Regions from separate parts of the Homo sapiens genome. Here region 2 is linked to region 1. Evidence: promoter capture Hi-C in 16 types of primary human blood cells and fetal thymus (Javierre and others, 2016). All regions are on one chromosome and are shown on one strand. The core of a region is centred on a gene start or on the middle of the fragment in contact, and the rest is flanking DNA. Distances in the headings are between cores, read along the strand shown.

Region 1 (3,532 bases), core at 125-2,624:
TTTATGAATGCAAGATATTTTTATATTTTTGTATTTTATATATTTTATATTATTTATATTTTTTGTATTTTATATTTTGAACTGCAAACAAGGCACAAACCTGCAGGTCTTGTCTATGTCCTCCAAATCACAGGCACTGCCAAGAGCATAGTGATTGTTGGGATTTAAAGGAATAAATTTCGTTTTTTGGCTTTATTGGTATACTTGGACAATAAAAGTCATGTGAACAATGTCAAATGTAAAGTTTAAAATAAATCATTCTTGTTCATGGAGATTAGTTTTGTTTTTTAGATCTTTTTACATTTTAATCTCCCCAAAATCACATATTTAGATATGAACATTTTGCCAAAAGAGGGCAGTATTCGCCTACAGTAGAATGTAAAGGGACTGAAACATTTCTGCAGAGACAAGGATGAACTTATTTTCCTCTTAAGATTGGTCTACTAGTCTGATCATCTGGGATTGACCATGCAAGTTTTAATTTGTTTTCTATTACTTTTATGGATTTAAAACATTTTTGTTTGAAAATGTTAGTCTTTAAAGATAAAGCCAAAAATCTGTTTAAAAATACCTGCTTACAGAATGACCAAAAAGTAGATGTTTTCATATTTATTAAGTTTTCAGACACGTCCTCAACGAGGTGCTGCTCACTTCAGGGAAAGATGGCCAGTTCAAACTGCTGATGAAAAGTCTGCAACCAGCAAGACCACTGCTGCCAGTGTGTCCTGAGGGAGCTTGCATCTGTTTGACTTTACATATACATACTTAGGTTTGTCCATCAGTTGTATCCTCTTGAAGGAGGTATGTGAGTTCATGGTTTTAAGCATATAAATTTAAACGTTAAAAGAAGAAATCAGAAGTAGCCCGTTTGAGTCTTACATGAGTGAAATGTGTTGGGTTTCAGCAGCAGAATATATAGAAGGAAATGAAACAATTTTTATTAAAGAGCATAGTTTGGAATAAAGAAAGAATATGTGCACCTAGATGAACGAATTAGAACTCTGCCTGCCCTTTAGGGTTTGGTAATGTTACCAGATAAAAAAGAAGAAAAGCTGTTCTGCATTGTTTCAATACATTCTTAATCAACTTGGGCTTCAAGAGGACAGCTGGAGGCTAAGAGGTCGGGTTTTTCATCAAATGCGCAGTGGAAGTAATTTTGGAAAAGTTTGTTTGCATTATGCTGCCTAAAACACGGTGTTTTAGAAAGAGGCTTTTGCATTGAAAAGCTTCTCGTCCTCGCCTCTGGGAGTCTAGTGCTTCCTAGAGCTGCTTGTGCCCTCAGCCCTGTAATGTGATATCCCTCCTCCTGGATTGGTCAGAGGGGTGTCCTTTCCCTGGGAGCTGCTTTCCACCACGGCTCCCAAACTTGGCTCAGTCCAGCAGCCACCATCACCACCACTGCGGTTGCTGCTGCAGCTGCAGCTGCTGCTCTCCCTCCGGCTGCTTCTTCGCGTGGCCAGCAGCGAATGGAGCGATGGAGCCCAGACTGTTCTGCTGGACCACTCTCTTTCTCCTGGCCGGGTGGTGCCTGCCAGGGTTGCCCTGCCCCAGCCGGTGCCTTTGCTTTAAGAGCACCGTCCGCTGCATGCACTTGATGCTGGACCACATTCCTCAGGTACCACAGCAGACCACAGTTCTGTAAGTTCACATAAATTCCCCAGAAACCCTCTTCCCCAATGCTTCATTGCTTCTCTGCTAGGACCTGTGTCCTTTTAATTTACGATTCCTAATGCTCTCCCTGCTTGTATACTTAGAAGAGGCTTTTCACTTTTCAAACAATTTCATGGTTCTGCTCTGTTAGACTAGAAAATGTAAGCAATGATGAGTTGACATAAATATATTTGTTTTGGATTCAGTTCTCTTCCAGCATCTTCCAGAACTTAGCATTGAGAATTCTCGTCTTCATTCTTCCTTCAATAATTTTCCTGCATACTTTCTCAATTTATTCCTATTCATCCTCTACTCCCAAGTCTTTGGGCCTCTTAATTGGTCAGCACGTGTCTGCCCCATTTGGAAGGAACTAATTTAACTTTAGAGTGTGGTTTCAATTGATTATGTGCTGACAAATTGTTAGGCTTTGTACTGTGTGTACCTCCTGGGAGGGTGAAGTCCTGAGCCCTCAGCACTTGAAGCACTGTCTGTCTCCAGAACAGACCCTCAAATGGTCCAGTAGAGTTCTTGAATGCTTAAAAGCCTTGTGGAGCAGCCGCTTAGACTAATCGGCATCTAGGAGGCATTACGGGATAGTAGGGCAAACCAGAATTTGGAAGTCAAACAGGTCTGAGTTCAAATCCTATCTTCTCATCTTTAATATTCAGATAATAAACCCAAACATTTAGATTTATTTAGATTAAATTAAGTCATAATTAGATAATTAGAAGGGCAAATCACCACAAAAGAAGAAAAGGATCTGTTTCTAGGGTCTATTTTTAAAGAAAGAAAAAGACGACAAATTCAAAAATTTAAGAAAAAATAAAAGAAGAAAAGGAAAAATGCTGAAAGATGCAGACTAAAGAGGTTTCCTGCTCTATAATAAATATTTTGTGGGTTGTGTCATGTTCATGGAAGACAAAACTGCTTGCAGTGTTTCAAGTCCATTCTTGGGCAGAGGGAAATAGCTTAAAATTCCTGGAATTTTGAGATATAAATGTTTAAGAGGATCATTGCCACACATTTGTCAGTCATAATCGTGAAATGAGGACTTGGTAATAAAAAGTCCAATTTGATGGTATTTACATAGAAAATGACATATTATCCATAGATTTTCATTTCTATAAAGCATTTCATTAATTTTATATGCATGCAGATATCAAAATACGTCTTACTGTAATAACTGAAAGGATTCTTGAACTTGGGAGCACTGCTTATTGCTATGTGGACAGCACAGTTCTGCAAGTGCCTTCAGACTCAGAACCAGCCATTTGTCCTTTTGTAATGACAGTTTTTTGGTAGATAGCAGCAAAGCCTTGGAGAAGGGGCTGCTTGTCTAATGAAGTATCTTGGAGCTACATGAGGTACAACTCGACCTAAATTTTGTTTCCTAGGTGTTTCAAAGAAGAGATTAGCTTGCATTAGACACACACCTCTAAATGTAATGAGCAGAACTGAAGTGATGTTGTCAGTGTTGTCATGCAGAGCCTTCCACTATGTTTAAAAATAAAGCTTAATGGTGGATTCTCAGGCCCTTGGCTAGATTCCTGTCTGGGAGTCTGGTGCCACCACTTACAAAATGTGTTGCCTTGGACAAATTCTTAACTTCTTGGTGTCACAGTTTCCTAATCTGTAAAAATGGAGATGCTAACAGTGTTTGATATGGTTTGGATCTGTGTCCCCACCCAAATCTCATGTTCAATTGTAACTCCCAATGTTGGAGGTGGGGTGCAGTGGGAGGTGATTGGATAGTGGGGGCGGATTCTCATGGTTTAACACCACCTCCCTTGGTGTTGTCATGGCGAGAGTGAGGTATCACAAGATCAGGTTGTTTAAAAGTATATAGCTCTTCTTGCGTCTCTCTTCCTCTTGCTCTGGCCAT
Region 2 (3,532 bases), core at 354-2,853, 2.8 Mb after region 1:
CATGTACCATCTTGAATTAGGAAGGAACTGCCCAAGACTGTCCTTGCCTTGCTCCTCTATTCCCTGGAAGTAGGGTGTCCTTTAAAGCTTTGCCCAGCAAGTCACATTTCCCTTGAGGTAAAGAACCCAGGGCAAGCTGCCTTTCAGTGTTCCTCAGCTGTGGTGCAAGTGGGACATGCACAGTCAGGCTTCATCTACCCTAAGCAGCTTTCTTGAGCCTGGGGACCAGCTCAACATGGATCCTAGGCTTCTGTTGTCCCTCACTGCCTATCTGTAAGTAATAAACCCTCCTGATATAACTTACTGCATGCATGATCTGTCTTACCAGACTGAGATGTGGATGACCAGTGCACAGTGAGCCTGCTTCACTATTACTTCCATTTCCTTGACCAAACAATGTAGAAACTACCCAGAGAATAAAGGGCCTGGAGAATGAATATCTACAACTACATCTGCATCCACATCCACATCTGCATCCTCATGTATATCTACATATGCATCCACATCTACGTCTAAATCTAAATCTGAGGCCCAGCCATTGTGGCTCACGCCTGTAATCCCAGCACTTTGGGAGGTCAAGGTGAGTGGATCACCAGAGGTCAGAAGTTCAAGACCAGCCTGGCTAACATGGCGAAACCCCATCTCTATTAAAAATATAAAAATTAGCCGGGTGTGGTAATGGGCACCTGTAATCCTAGCTACTTGGGATGCTGATGCAGGAGAATCACTTGAACCTGGGAGGCAGAAGTTGCAGTGAGCCGAGATGGCACCACTGCACTCCAGCGACAGAGTGAGGCTGCGTCTCAAAAATAAATAAATTAATAAATCTAATCCTGCCTCTGCATCTGCACCTGTATCTACATCACTACATCTGCATCGGTCTCTACATCTACATTACAACTACATCTAAATGCATCTAAATCTGCATCAACATCTGCGTCTACATCTACATCCACATCTACATTGGCATCTGCATTCAGATCAACATCTAAATGTCAGTCTGAATCTGTATCTACATCTACATAATCTACATCTGCATTCACAGTGGCATCTGCATCCACAGCCACTTCCACATCCGCATCCCTGTCTACATCTGCATCCGTGTCCACATCCGCATCCACATCTAAATCTAAATCTGCCTCTAAATTTAGACCTGTGTCTACATCTACATCTGTATCTGCATCTACGTCTGCATCTGCATCCACATCCACATCTACAGCTGCATCTACATCTAAATTTGTATCTACATCTGCATCCATTTCAGCATCAACATCTAAATCTAAATCTGAATCTTCATCTGCATTGCATCTGAGTCTCTCTGCATCTGCATCCTCATCTACATCTACCTCTGCATCCGCATCTGCATCAGTGAATACCTCTTCTTCTGCATCTACATCTGCATCTGCATCCACATCTACCCCTACATCTGCATTTGCATCAGCCTCCACATCTGCATCTACATATCTACACTTATGAACTCAGTGATATTAGCAAATTGCCTTCAGGTAGAGTCCCTATCATTTGCATTTTTCCACTAAATGGAGACTGACTTGACAGAGCCCAGGGGACCAATCTTGGTTAACTTTGCATCCTCACAGAGTCTAACACAAGACAGATACATAGGTGAGATGTCAGATGCTCAGTGTGTATTAAAGTGCTCCTGTTGGACACTATACATGACTACTTATAACTTGAAACTACTAAATTAGCATCTACGATTTGTGATTTTTGTTAACATCAGCTTTCAATGGTACACTTGAAGTACAGGAAGAAGCAACTCACAAAAAAATCAGGGACACTCTTATTGTTAGGGTTCCTGGGACAGTACCCCCAGTGAGAACACTGCATTGCACTTCAGCCCCATTCATTGTTCAATCAATGGGCATTTATTCAGACCATACCATGTTGCAGACATTGGCTAGCCACTGGGCATGTAAGGACAGAACAACACTGTTTCTGTTGCCAAGGGTCTCTGATCTAGTGATGGGGGAAAATAAGTAAAGCAGTGACAAGTACAGCTATGGGCTAGGAAAAGACAGCCCACAGAAGGAATATCTAAGCTGAAATTCAGTACAGAGTATGCATTAGCCAGGTGAACATAGACTAGGGGAATGAACAGATGGGAGGGATAGTCCAGGTAGAAAAACATCACAGGAAATAATCCAAAGGCAAGAGAGAGCAGGACAAACTCAAGGAGTTAATTTATGGAACTGCTCAATCTGTCTGTATCACAGATGAAGACAGGGGTTTTGGTTGAAGCTATGTGAGAGGGAAGTATGGTGTGAACACGGGGCCTTTAGCAGCACCCTGGGATGTGGGGATTCATCCTAAAAGTAATGGAAATGTTTGATGCATTTTACGAAACAGCGACTTAACGATTCGTACATTTTTTTGAAGGATATTTTTCTCTATATTATCAGGAAAGGGGTTAAAAGAGGGGAATACTGAAAGTAGTGAGACCAACTGAGAGGTTCTCAATATCCCCAGTAAAGGTGGACAGTGGCCTGACCTAGAGCAGGGCGGAGGGCATAGGGAGACACAGGTGCAGGAAGAAAAACCACAGGTCTGGTGACTGGATGGGGAATGAGGGGGAGGGAGGTGTAAGTGAGGCTTCTCACTTGAAAAACCAGCGAAGTGCTATCAGCGCAGAAAGGGGACAGGTAGCACTAAAGGGGGCAGAAGACAACAGGATCGATTCAGCGTGGGTGTATGTGCGGGACTTCCAAGGCACAGAGTACACTGCATGCCTGGGTCTGACACTGGGGAAGAAATGAGAGCAGAGGTTCTGGTTTGTGGCCAACACCAGAGAGACAGCCCATGAAGGCTTGGGACTTAGGAATATGGCTTGGAAGGAATGTGCAGGGAGAGAAAAGTAGACAGCATCAAGAGAGTATTGGACGGGGAGAGTGAGGGGCCTCTAGGGACAGCCACAGAGTAGATAGTCAATACATCTTTGCTCAGTTTAACAGTTAATTCAAACGTTAAAAACAACCCTGTGACAAAGGGCTTTCAAACCTTCTTCAGAGCCAATAGTGAAAATTTAAAAAATATATTCATGAGAATGTACTGCACACAACAACAACAATAATAAATTAGACTAACATTTGAATCCAAGCTTAAAAAGGGCCAAACCATGTACGTACATTTAATCATGAAACCCATTGCAGATCTCAAAAAGATTATTATCTAAAAAGTATTAATTTTTTTTATAAAGGGCTCATATATGTCAATAAGCAATGATAGTCCCAATAAATCTATAGGCAAAGGACATACACAGACATTTCATTAATGATAAATAGTTCTAGTAATTTAAATATGAAAACAAAGACTTTAACCTTTCTGAGAATCAAATGCATTTTTTAAAAAATGTGCTGTAGTTTTTCACACACTAAGGAAACATCTACAGTGAAGACACTATCTGTCCATGATGACAGCAGTGTGGCTACGTGAACTCACTCATATACTCTATCTGAACACAGAACTTCGGTTTTAATATCTGAAATTTTGACAATTTGTATCATGAGCTATTGAA

The links. Contacts are between HindIII fragments. The CHiCAGO score rates a contact against its expected background, and 5 or more counts as called.
Region 2: a fragment that was not itself captured here is called in contact with the fragment with the promoter of PXDNL in region 1 in 1 of 17 cell types (total B cells); the score reaches 9.4 in total B cells.

What each region holds. Positions count from the first base shown.
Region 1 is chr8:51,807,287-51,810,818 of GRCh38, reverse strand. PXDNL (peroxidasin like) reads left to right here and starts at 1,374. Exons shown (of 23, transcript NM_144651.5): 1 at 1,374-1,638. The coding sequence starts at 1,475. RefSeq lists enhancers at 957-1,478, 1,479-2,001. The HindIII fragment of the contact is 1,936 bases long and covers 1,229-3,164 here.
Region 2 is chr8:48,972,140-48,975,671 of GRCh38, reverse strand. No RefSeq gene overlaps it. Among named protein-coding and RNA genes, the nearest start is that of SNAI2, 52 kb to the right of the region's middle. The HindIII fragment of the contact is 3,028 bases long and covers 90-3,117 here.